3 separate regions of the Homo sapiens genome follow, and regions 2 and 3 are each linked to region 1. The links are contacts of gene promoters, found by promoter capture Hi-C in human tissues and cell types (Jung and others, 2019). All regions are on one chromosome and are shown on one strand. Each heading gives the region's core, a stretch centred on a gene start or on the middle of the fragment in contact. The rest is flanking DNA. Distances are from core to core; before and after follow the strand shown.

The links. The method cuts DNA at HindIII sites, captures the fragments that hold promoters and counts their contacts. A contact is called where the count stands out against the background at its distance.
Region 2: a fragment that was not itself captured here is called in contact with the fragment with the promoter of KCNV1 in region 1 in 1 of the 25 tissues and cell types used here (adrenal gland).
Region 3: a fragment that was not itself captured here is called in contact with the fragment with the promoter of KCNV1 in region 1 in 1 of the 25 tissues and cell types used here (pancreas).

Annotation. Positions count from the first base shown.
Region 1 is chr8:109,973,586-109,977,954 of GRCh38, reverse strand. It overlaps KCNV1 (potassium voltage-gated channel modifier subfamily V member 1), which reads left to right and starts at 2,184. Exons shown (of 4, transcript NM_014379.4): 1 at 2,184-2,336; 2 at 2,763-4,027. The coding sequence starts at 3,567. RefSeq lists an enhancer at 3,098-3,695. The HindIII fragment of the contact is 3,330 bases long and covers 485-3,814 here.
Region 2 is chr8:110,014,282-110,018,650 of GRCh38, reverse strand. No RefSeq gene overlaps it. Among named protein-coding and RNA genes, the nearest start is that of KCNV1, 41 kb to the right of the region's middle. The HindIII fragment of the contact is 7,276 bases long and covers 1-4,369 here.
Region 3 is chr8:109,936,508-109,940,876 of GRCh38, reverse strand. No RefSeq gene overlaps it. Among named protein-coding and RNA genes, the nearest start is that of KCNV1, 37 kb to the left of the region's middle. The HindIII fragment of the contact is 4,605 bases long and covers 282-4,369 here.

The sequences.
Region 1 (4,369 bases), core at 935-3,434:
TGGACATGTTTCCCTTCTTATTCTATGTTATGCTCTTCCTTGGAGTCTCTTACTAAAATCTGGGCCATCAAGGAAGGAAAATCAACAGACTTAAGGGAAGGGCACAGAGCACAGGTGGGGATTTGTATTACTCAAGACTCTATATTTTAAAAAGGGGTCATTTATATTTATATACTCCATGTTGACTAATCATCCCTCTAGTTATGATTGCCTTGATGAGTGTAAATTGCTATAACTACAATCAGTGCCCAATTGAAACATTTACGCTGTTAGCAGTTGAGATAGAGTCAGAAGTCAGAAAGGGCCTGTTTCAAGCCTTTCACATACCCCTTTACATATTCACTATGTAAGGTAGAAAGTTACTTTCTTAGTGCCTATAAGCATCCAAGTTGAAATCTATAACTAAGGATTACAATGCTTACTTCATAGGATCATTGTGAGAAGTCAGATGTGTAGCAAACAGCCTGACTCTTAAGGAGAGGTTATTATAACTACTTCTACAGGACAACATTCATCATAACTGAGGTTCAGTGGCTTACTGGCAGGGGAGGAGACCTGGAAGCCTCAGTCATCTTTCACTAACCTCTGGTTACCTGTCCAAGATCTCTCTCCTCACCTAAAGCTGGCATTCTCCTTTGAATGCTTTCCTCTTTCCTCACCATAATCTGTAAAGCTAGTATAGACTTTCATTGCTAATCATGGTATGAATAAGCCTTAACAGAACTATGGCCTTTTGCTTTTTTTCAATACCTATATAATCTACAATTGAGATGCTGGAGGAGTTTTCTTGCTGTGCAGGGGAAAGCTCTGCTACATTAAAAAATAATAACGATACAGTACCTATACAGAATGAAGAACTGTTGACTGGGATAATTCTAGCATTTCTGTATTTACTGTATGGAAGAGTTCTTTAAGGAGAAAAGTTAACCAAATGGATGGCTGTCAAAAGAACCATGCTTATAAATATTATAGTTTAAAAAAGTTTATTGAAGTCCCCCATTTATTCTCAGAGGATTACTATAAGCTCCACAACAACAGAGATCTTGTCTATTCTTCATTGATACATCGCAAGTACCTTGAATAGTGCCAGTATATAGTGAATGCTCAGTAAACTTTTGTTGAAAGAGTGATGAAAATACCTCATTAAACTCCTGTCCTTCATTAGAAACTTGTAAACAAAGAAAATAAAAACAATCACACTGATTTATCAACAAAAAATAATGTTTCTAGAATTTTGTTTATGAAGGCAGCCTCTGACATGTAGTCCTGGGTTTGATTTGAACTGTGTGGCCCTTTGCAAATCACTTAATTTCCCTGTGCCTCACTTTTCCTTTCTGTAAAATGGATATATGCTACCTCATAGTGTTGTCATTATGATTAAATAAGGTACTGCATGAATAAAGAGCCTACAAATTTCCTGGCATAAAGTAAGCACCCATTAAATGTTGGGTGTTTTCATTAAAGCTTGAAATTTCACTGAGGAAGGCACTGAGACCCTCAAAGTAAATGATAGCTAGACGTCCCACAGCCAGTTGGCAAAGCTAGAACTAAACAGTCACGTTTCTGTCCAATCTATGAAAAAGCTTATTCTACTACATCAGGCTGCCTGCTTATGTCTTTATATATACTACCTAATACGTGTGTGTGTGTATGCTTTCTAATATATACTTATATATGTAAGTGTATCCATAATATATGCTTTCCAATATGTATTCTATATATACATACTAGAAAACAACGAAGATGAGTGTGGTTCACTCTCTCTGGCAAAGACTTGAAAAATGCATGATTCTGAGATGCCTGCTGAAAATGTGAAAACCTTGAACCATGCCAAATGAAGCAGTTAATATAACTGCCCTAACCTCAAGTTTAGCACACTGATCCAGTTGGAAATTTTGCTCTGGAGCATTTACAAAAGCACAGATCCGGGGAAACGGGAATCAAATGCAGTAATTCTGCAAGTGTATTCAGGATGAATGTAATATTGAGTGTCACCGGGCACCTCACTACCCCCCGCCTCCACCCCCGCCGTCTCACCTCCCTCCCTTAGATCCTGCCACTCCCCTCTGCTGGTGCTGGAAGCACTGGGCGAGTGGCTCTCAGAGCTAGAGCGGGCGGGGCGGACACGCTTAGCGTAAGCGCAGGGGCCAGGAGCCCGGAGGGAGGTGGAGGCGGGGCAAGGCAAGGCAGCAGGCGCTGGGTAGAGCTCAGCTGGAACACAGTTTCCCTCCTGGACCGGTCGAGTCAGACCTCACGTGTAGACTAAGAGGATCAAAAGAAGAGTACGTTACCTGCGGCGCCGGTTGTGCGCAGACCAGATGTGCCGGGAGCTGCAGGTGAGTCACTTGCTCTTCCCTCCCACCCCCACCTCCTCACCCCGAGTCCAACAGGTTGGCTGGAGCGCAGCTTCCAGGGGCCCCGTGGGTACACTTCTAGTCTCACCTGGGCGCTGGCCTCGGCTTCTCCCTTTACCGAGGGAGGCCGTCGTTACTATTTAAATTCCTGCCCCAGCCCACGCTTGTTCTATTCCTTGTCTTTTTGCCTTTCCTTCTAAAATGAGAGCTCCGCTGTGCTCAGAACACCTGCTCTCCGGGAAACTTGTAGGGACAGAAATGGTTAAAAGGAAGGGTGCCTCAAAAAAGTGCCTCAACACGAGGTGGACCCTCGACAGGGTGGGAGCTGACAGTGACACTCCTAGTTCTTAGTGACCCACTGGGTCTTCAATAAAAAGTCATCATTAATTATTCTTGTTTCTCAACCAGGAGGTCAGAACCTAAGGGAGACGGCGGAAGAAAATGGAGCGTCAGTGATCATCAGACTAGAATGAGAGTGAATTGGGAGAAAATGGTGCGGCCCCCTCACCCAGAGAACCCTCCCCCACCTGCTCACACCCCCAGCGAACACCCCGGGGGAGGCCTATGAAGCAGCAGTAAAAGAAAAGGGAGGAATATAAATTCTCAAGTTGGAAGGGACCCGGTTACCACTTCCTTTGCTTTCTGAACTTTTTGTTTTGGTCTCCTGCGGGCAGGAGTGAGTCTCGCCATCCCCCTTGCTTGCTTGCTTGCTTGCGTTCAGCTAAGAGTCATCTTCTCTCCTCTTCCTCCTCCTCCGCCCCACATCTCCCTCCTTCCTCCCTTCCCCAACCCCTCCACCCACCAAGTAGCGAGTCATTCAATCTGTACACCTCCTGGGCTGGGAATCGCAATTGCGAAGTTGGGAGGCGGGGTGACAACGTTTGGGAAGGGCCAGGGCGACCGGCAGTGTGCACAGGGACTGTGTCGGGCTTGGACCTCACCTGATCCTCTCTCTTAGCGCGACCCTTCCTCTGCTCCCTGTCTCCTCTTTCTGCCACTTGTGCGCTGCTTCCGCGCACTCCCGGCTCCCTAGCGGCAGGAGGAGGAAGGCGCACAGCGGGTGGAGAGGGTGCGCCAAGGAGAGGTAACCCCTTCGGGAGCCCGGGGAATCCCGGCCGCCACCAGGGGCCGTGCCACCGCCCTCGCGGGACCAAAGCTTCCGGCGTGTCCCCAACTTTGTGGCGCCCTCAGGCCGCGGCGACTGGGTTAGAGATGCCTTCCAGCGGCAGAGCGCTGCTGGACTCGCCGCTGGACAGCGGCTCCCTGACCTCCCTGGACTCTAGTGTCTTCTGCAGCGAGGGTGAAGGGGAGCCCTTGGCGCTCGGGGACTGCTTCACGGTCAACGTGGGCGGCAGCCGCTTCGTGCTCTCGCAGCAGGCGCTGTCCTGCTTCCCGCACACGCGCCTTGGCAAGCTGGCCGTGGTGGTGGCTTCCTACCGCCGCCCCGGGGCCCTGGCCGCCGTGCCCAGCCCTCTGGAGCTTTGCGACGATGCCAACCCCGTGGACAACGAGTACTTCTTCGACCGCAGCTCGCAGGCGTTCCGATATGTCCTGCACTACTACCGCACCGGCCGCCTGCATGTCATGGAGCAGCTGTGCGCGCTCTCCTTCCTGCAGGAGATCCAGTACTGGGGCATCGATGAGCTCAGCATCGATTCCTGCTGCAGGGACAGGTACCCCGGAGGCACGCGGCGGCTGGGCGGGGAGGCGGGCGCGGCAGAGAAAGAGAGGAAGGCACAGGTAGATTTGAGGCTTTACACAAGCTTCGCTGGAGCCAGGCCTAGCAATAAGGTGTGGCCACTTCTGGGCTGACAGGTGGGGTGGGGGTGGGGGACTGGAAAGCATCAACGCCAACTTTTGAATAGAACTTTTTGAATCTCTTTGTTCCCTTTTTTGAGTATGCTAATTTAACGTATAAGGCAAGGGACTTCAGGCCCACAATAAATATTTGGTGACTGAATAAATGAATCAGAAACGCCATGCTCCAAAAATGCATGCATAGGGATAAAAGATTT
Region 2 (4,369 bases), core at 1,077-3,576, 41 kb before region 1:
AGTCCACTGCTGCCACTACTGTGCCCATGTATGCCACAGGAAGGTCCCAAGATGTACCCACTACTTCTACTGCCATCACCAATGCCATGCCTGCTTCCCAGAGGCCTAAGAACCTGCCTGCCCATCCAGTCCACAATTGCCCCTGCTGGCACCTAAGCAAGTTACCTGGAGGCCCAAAGATCAGCCCACCCAGATTCTTTACCACTGGAGTCCACATACACTACTTGAGGGCCCAAGGTCTGGCACACCACTGCTGCCACCACTAATACCTAAGGACTGACCCACCTGGTACCCCTCTCCCCAGCAAAGCTCCACTGCACCCTTCATTAACAATCACACTCTAAGCCACCGAAGAACTTAGATACCACTGATACTCAATAACAGCTGAAGAGATCATATGGAGTATATACTATTGAGCCCACCCAAAATCAAAGCCAAAGTACCATATCCAATGTACTCTACAGATATGTCCATAAGAAAATATATATTCCTATGAAAGCCAATTCATAAAATTTGAAGAAGTGATACCTGCTATACCAAATGTGCAGATATGAACATAAGGACAGAAGAAACATGAAAAAGAAACAAAGAAACATGACATCTCCAAAGGGACACAATTATTCTCCAGCAATAGGTTCCACGAAAAAAGAAATCTATGAAAAAATTGAAAAAGAGTTCAAAATGATGATATAAAAGAAGCTCAATGAGATGGAAATGAAAAAACATAAAAAATACAAAGAAATTAGAAAAACAATTCATGATCTAAAGGAGAAATTTAACAAAGAGTTAGATTCAGAAAAATGAAGCAAAAACCCTGGAACTGAAGAATTTAATAAATGAAATTTTAAAATACAATAAACAGTTTCAACAATAGACTAGATGAAGCAGAAGAAAAAATTTCTAAACCTGGAGACAAGTCTTTAAATTACCCAATTATGCTCAAAAGAAAGGAAATCAGTATATCAAAGAGATATCTGCACTCCTATGTTTGTCGCAGCACTGTTTCCAATAGCTAAAGTTTGGGGCAACCTAAGTGTCCATCAACAGATGAATGCATAAAGAAAATGTGGTGCATATATACACTGGATAACTATTTGGCCATAAAAAGAATGAGATCCAGTCATTTGCAACAATATGGATGGAACAGAGATCATTACATTAAGTGAAATAAGCCAGTCACAGAAAGACAAGCATCACATGTTCTCACTTATTCGTGGAATCTAAAGATCAAATCAATTGAACTCATGAATATAGAGAGTATAAGGATTGTTACCAGAAACTGGGAAGCGGGGGTGGGAGGAAGGTGGAGACAATGAATGAGTACAAAAAAAAAATAGTGAATAAGACTTCCTATTTGATAGCACAATAGGGTGACTGTAGTTAGTAATAAATTACTTGTATATTTTTAAGTAACTTAAAGAATGTAATTGAATTATTAAACTCAAATGATAAATGTTTGAGGGGATGGATAAAAAATAAAGTAAAATAAAACTACCCAGTTAGATAAAGAGGAAAATAATAAAGCAATAAAAAACAATAAATAAATCTTACGTGACATAGGGGACATCATAAAGTAACCAAATGTTTGAACTAGGTGTTCTAGAAGGAGAAGAGATGAATGGGCAAAACATATAAAATCGTTTAAACAAAATAATAGCAGAAAACTTCCCAAGTCATGTAACACATATAGACATTCAGATAGGGGAAACTTAAAAATTTCCAAATTGATTTAACACAAAAAGATCTTCTCCAAGGTATATTAGAATCAAATTTTCAAAAGTCAAACAAAGGGAGAATTATAAAAACAGCAATTATTATAAAAGAGATAATGTCAAGTCATACATAAGGGAATCCTCATCAAACTAACAGCAGATTTCTCAGCAGAAATTTTACAGGCCAGGTGAGAATGGGATAATGTATTCAAAGAACTGAGAAGAAAAAAAAAATGCTAGCCAAGAATACAATACACTGCAAAGCTTACCTTCAAAAATGAAGAAGACATAAAGTCTTTCTCAGACAACCAAAAACTGAAGGAATTCATCACCAATCAACCAACCCTAAAGAAATACTTAAGTGAATTTTGCATGTGGAGAAAAAGATAATATTTACAATTATGAAAACACACAAAAGCATAAAACCCACCGGTAAAACAGACACACAAGTGAGAAAGAGGAATGAATCAAATGTTACCACTATATAAATCCACCAAACCACAATGATAAACAATAAAAAGGGAAGAAAAAATTACAGGATATATAAAACAATCAGAAAACAAATAACAAAACGATGGGAGTAAATCCTCATTTATCAATAACCTTGAATGTAAGTGTACTAAATTTCCCACTTAAAAGACAGAGACTAGCTGCATGAATTTTAAAAAAAATGACAATTATATGAAGCCTATAAGAAACTCACTTACCTCTAAAGACACATATAATCTGAAAGTGAAAAGGTATAAAAAGATTTCATGAAAATAGCAACAAAAGGTGAGCAGGAGTAGCTATATTTATATCAGATAAAACAGACTGGCTGGGCACAGTGGCTCATGCCTCTAATCCCAACAATTTGGGAGGCCAAGGCGGGCAGATGACGAGGTCAGGAGTTTGAGACCAGACTGACCAACATGGTGAAATCCCATCTCTACTAAAAATACAAAAATTAGCCAGGGGTGGTGGCGCATGCCTGTAATCCCAGCTACTCAGAAGAATCGCTTGAACCCGGGAGGCAGAGGTTGCAGTGAGCTAAGATCGCACCACTGTACTCCAGCCTGGGCGACAGAGGGAGATTTTGTCTCAAAAAAAAAAAAAAAAATTATTCAATTCAAAAGCTGTAAAAAGAAACAAAAAAAGGATATTATATAATGTTAAAGGAATCAATTTAGCAAAAGGATATAACAATTCTAAATATAAATGTACCCAACAAGAGGGCACCCAGATATATATAGAAAATATTATTAGATCTAAAGAGATAAATTGCCACCAATACAATAATAGTTGAGGACCTCAACACCTCACTCTTAGCATAGGGCAGATCACCTAGACCAAAAAAAAAAAAAAAATCAACAAAGAGACACTGGATTTAAACTGCACTTTAGACCAAGTAGATCTAACAGATATTTACAGAACATTTCATCCAACAGTTGAAGAATACACATTCTTCTCACCAGCATATGGAACATTCAACAGGATAGACCATATGTTAGGCCACAAAACAAGTCTTAATAAATTTTTTAAAACTAAATTATATTAAGTATTTTCTAGGACTGCAATAGAATAAAACTAGAAGTTAATAACAAGATAAATTTTGAAAACCTGCAAATACATGGAAATTTAACAGCATGCTCCTAAATAACCATTTGATTAATGAAGAAATTAAGAAGGGAATAAAAGAATTTTTTGCAATGAACAAAAATGAAAATACAACATACTAAATCCTATGAGATACAGCAAAAGCAGTGCCTACAGGGAATTTTATAGGAATTAACACCTATAGCAAAAAAGTAGAATGATTTCAAATAAACAACCCTAACAATGCACCTCAAGGAACTAGAAAAGAAAAAAAATTAGTAGAAAAAAATAAGAATCAAAGCATAACTATACATAAAATGTAAAAAGCAAAGGAAAAACAAAACATAAACAAGTTTGCAAAATAACCAGCTAGCATCATAATGACAAGATCAAATCCACACATAATAATACTAACCTTAAATGTAAATAGACTAAATACCCCAATTAAAAGACACAGAATGGCAAGCTAGATAAAGAATCAAGACCCACCAGTATGCTGTCTTCAAAAGACCCATCTCACATACAAAGACCACATAGGCTCAAAATAAAGAGATGGAAGAAAAATTACCAAGCAAAAGGAAAATAGAAAAAAACAGGGGTTGCAATCCTCGTTTCTGAAAAGACAGATTTTAAACCAACAAAAATCAAAAAAGACAAAGAAGGGTATTACACAATGGTAAACGGTTCAATTCAACAAAAAGAGCTAACTATCCTAAATATATATGCACCCAATACAGGAGCACCCAGATTCATAAAGCAAGTTATTAGAAACATTCAAAGAGACTTAGACTCCCACACAATAATAAGTGGGAGGCTTTAACACCCCAGTGACATTATTAGACAGATCAATGAGACAGAAAATTAACAAAGATATGTAAAACCTGAATTCATCTCTGGATCAGGTAGACCTGATAGATATCTACAGAAGTCTCCACTCAAGAACAATAGAATATATATTCTTTTCATTGCCACGTGGCACTTACTCTAAAATTGATCACATAATTGGAAGTAAAACACTCCCCCAAATGCGAAAGAACTGAAATCATAACAGTCTTTCAGACCACAGTGCAATCAAATTAGAA
Region 3 (4,369 bases), core at 1,335-3,834, 37 kb after region 1:
CCAAGTGGATAGGATGACCTGTTCTGTGGACACCACTCAGCCTATTTATCAAGCCACCCCTGTCATTGCCCAATGGGCCCATGAACAAAGTGTCCATGGTGGCAGGGATGGAGGTTACCCATGGGCTCAGCAACATGGATTTCCACTCACCAAGGCTGACCTGACTGCAGCTACTGCTGAGTGCCCAATTTTCCATTAGCAGAGACCAACACTGAGCCCTCGATGTGGCACCATTTCTCGGGGTGATCAGCCAGCTACCTGGTGGCAGGTTGATTATGTTGGACCTCTTCCATCACGGAAAGAGCAGAGGTTTGTCCTCACTGGAATAGACACTCCAGATATGGGCTTGCCTATTCTGCACGCAATGCTTCTGCCAAGACCATGGACTCATGGAATGTATTATCTGCCATTAGAGTATTCCACACAGCACTGCCTCTGACCAAGACATTCACTTTTCAGCTAAAGAAGTGCGGCAGTGGGCTCACGCTCATGAAATTCACTGGTCATACCATGTTCTCCATCATCCTGAAGCAGCTGGATTGATAGAACGGTGGAATGGCCTTTTGAAGTAACAATTACAATGCCAACTAGGTGACAACAGCCTGCAGGGCAAACTAGGTGACAACAGTCTGCAGGGCAAACTAGGTGACAACAGCCTGCAGGGCAAACTAGGTGACAACAGCCTGCAGGGCAAACTAGGTGACAACAGTCTGCAGGGCAAACTAGGTGACAACAGTCTGCAGGGCAAACTAGGTGACAACAGTCTACAGGGCAAACTAGGTGACAACAATTTGCAGGGCAAACTAGGTGACAACAGTTTGCAGGGCAAACTAGGTGACAATAGTTTGCAGTTCTCCAGAAGGCCGTGTGTGTTCTGAATAACCAGCATCCAACATATGGTACTGTTTTTCCCATAGCCAGGATTAATAGGTCTAGGAATCAAGGGGTGGAAGTGAAAGTGGCACCACTCACCATCACCCCTACTGACCCACTAGCAAAATTTTTGCTTCCTGTTCCTGCAACATTATTTTCTACTGACCTAGAAGTCTTAGTTCCAGAGGAAGGAATGCTGCCACCAGGGGACACAACAATGATTCCATTAAACTGGAAGTTAGCATTGCCACCTGGACACTTTGGGCTCCTCCTACCTTTAAGTCAACAGGCTAAGAAGGGAGTTACAGTGTTGGCTGGGGTGATTGACCCAGACTGTTAAGATGAAATCAGTCTACTACTCCGTAACAAAGGTAAGAAAGAGTATGCATTCAATACAGGAGATCTATTAGGGCATCTCTTAGTATTACCCTGCCCTGATTAAGGTGAGTGGAAAACTACAACAGCCCAATCCAGGCCGGACTACAAATGGTCCAGACCCCTCAGGAATGAAGGCTTGAGTCACTCCACCAGGAAAAAAACCACAACCTGCTGAGGTGCTTGCTGAAGGCAAAGGGAATACAGAATGGGTAGTAGAAGAAGGTAGTCATCAATACCAGCTACGACCACGTGACCAGCTGCAGAAATGAGGATTGTAACTGTCATGAGTATTTCCTCTTTCTGTTGTTAAAAGCATGTTTGTGCATGGATACACTTGTACTAAGAAAATCTCTTCATTTTATTTCCTTTTCCTTTATCATGTGACATAAAATTTATTGACTTCATATCAGCATTTAAGTATTATTAACTTTATGTAATAGTATTTGGGTTGGGGATTGGTGTGTTTCCAGTTGTATGAAGGATACTTGTATTATGTTAGGTGTAATTATGACCTTATTATTGTCTTTATTTGAAAATTATGTATTATCTTAGGAGATGAGTATGGGTTCAAGTTGAAAACGGGTAGACTTGTGATGGTTAATACTGTGTGTCAGCTTGATTGGATTGAAGCATGCAAAATATTGATCCTGGGGTGTGTCTGTGAGGGTGTTGCCAAAGGAGGTTAACATTTGAGTCAGTGGGCTGGAAAAAGCAGACCCACCCTGAACCTGGTGGGCGCAATCTAATCAGCTGCCAGTGAATATAAAGCAGGCAGAAAAACGTGAAAAAGAGAGAGACTGGCCTAGCCTCCCAGCCTATATCTTTCTCCCTGCTGGATTCTTCCTGCCCTCTAACATTGGACTCCAAGTTCTTCAGTTTTGAGACTTGGACTGGCTCTCCTTGCTCCTCAAGCTTGCAAACAGCCTATTGTGGGACCTTGTCCTCCCTATAATTAAAAATTGTATTAAGGCTTAATTATTTTTTCAAATTTATGTCTAAGTCTGTTTCACAAGGAGCTACCTATTGACCTTTGCTGATTATACTAGTTATTGACTGTTATTTGAGACAGCAAATCTTCAACTGAACTTCAATATCATACACTGAAAAGCAACAGTTTTTGGACTCAAGACAAATTTGGAGTGTAATCACAATCTTGCCATGTTGGCATTTTTCCTTCTTTTCAAATGGGCATAAAAAGAGAATAATTTATGTTTGTCATAAAGAGTAGAGATGAAGTATATAAAAAGTAGGGTACTTATTATATGCTCAATACACAATACATTTTATTATATTCATGGAAAAATATGTAGGCAGTATTTAAAAATTGCATGAAACATTTTATTGTCATTTTTCTGTTACATTATATTCACATATAATTTATAAGTTTTAGACCAAAATTTTATTTTTGCAATTTTCATTTTAAACCTAAACACTATATTATATATAGTGTTTTATATATAATAAGATATATATCTATATCTATCTATATATATTCTATTAGTCTTGTTCCTCTAGAGAACCCTGACTAATACCTTTGATATGATTTTTTGAAAATGAAATTTTACCTCTGTGATCTTCCTTCCAAAACCCATAACCCCAGTCTAATCATGAGAAAAACAATGGGCAAATTTTAAGAGAGTAGAATCCTACAATAGTCTGCCATATTCCCAGAAAGAAGAATCCTACTGTATGGCTGACCAGTATTCCTCACAATTTTCAAGGCATCAAAAACAAAGAAAGTATGAGAAACTCTCACATCCAGGCAGATCATAAAGAGACACGATAACTAAATGTAATTAGTGGTATCTTGGATAGAAAACTGGGGCAGAAAAGGGTATTAGGTAAATACTAAGGACCTCTGAATAAATTATAAACTGTATTTAATATTATATTAGTTATTAATTGTGTCAAGTAATTGTAACAATGCAATGCTAACATGAAAGATGTTAACAATGGAAAGAACTTTGTAGAGTAGTATATGGGAACTCTCTACTATCTTCTTAATGTTTTTGTACTCAAAAACTACTTCAAATAAAATTTATTCAAAAGTTGAAGAAACTTAAAACAATTTTTTTCTGATTTTAACAATGTGTTGTATCAAAATATATGTTATTTTGTTCCAGAGAGAAGGGACTAAGTCACAAAAAAAGGAGTCTTTAATGATTCACTGAAAGTCTCAGATCACTTCTCTAAGTAATTTATTTGACACTTAAGGTGACTAAGATATTATTATAATGTTTAATAATTCAGCCTTTAAAATGTGAAGACAGGAGGATTAACAATTCCAGTGAAATATGAGGTTGTTTAAAATTCCCTTCAAAATTACATTTTAGTTATTTTCTTAAATGCTCATTTAAATGTTTAATCAAATTCTATATCCACACTGTCCACACTGCACGTAATAATTTGATTCCAGATAGGTTATTTTCTCTCTCAGGCTTATTTTACTTCAGCATAATTATAAGGGCACTAGCTATTTATTTGTTTCCATTAGAAGACACTTACCTCTAGGCTGGGCACAGTGGCTCACATGTGTAATCACAGCACTTTGGGAGGCTAAGGCAGGTGGTTTGCTTGAGCCCAGGAATTCAAGACTAGCCTGGGCAACATAGTGAGGCCTATTCTCTATAAAAAAAAAAAAAAAAGTAAATAATTAGCCTAGCATGGTGGCACATGCCTGTAGTCTCAGTTACTCGGGAGGCTGAGGTGGGAGGATCACTTGAGCCTGGGAAGTCATGGCTGCATCTTGACACCGCACTCCACCCTGGACAACAGAGCAAGACCTAGTCTAAAAAAAAGAGAGAGAGAGACTTACCTCCTGCAAAGATGCTAACAAATAGTTGCATGGATAAAAACAGATCAGTTTAGTTTGGCCTTTATATTTAAGAGGATATTCATATTATGTTGCCTATTCAACACCATTGCAATCTCTGATTATGACCAAGAAATCTCCTCATCTATTTTCCTTGAGAGGAAGATTTGGGTATTGCAATCCCATTGACTGTATATAATAGATGGATTTCCATGTCATTACTGTAGGAAGCACTGGCTTATCTGAAAGAGATAAGCCATTCTTATTCAGAATGTCTCTTTTAAGCTGCTCCTTTCTGCGCCATTC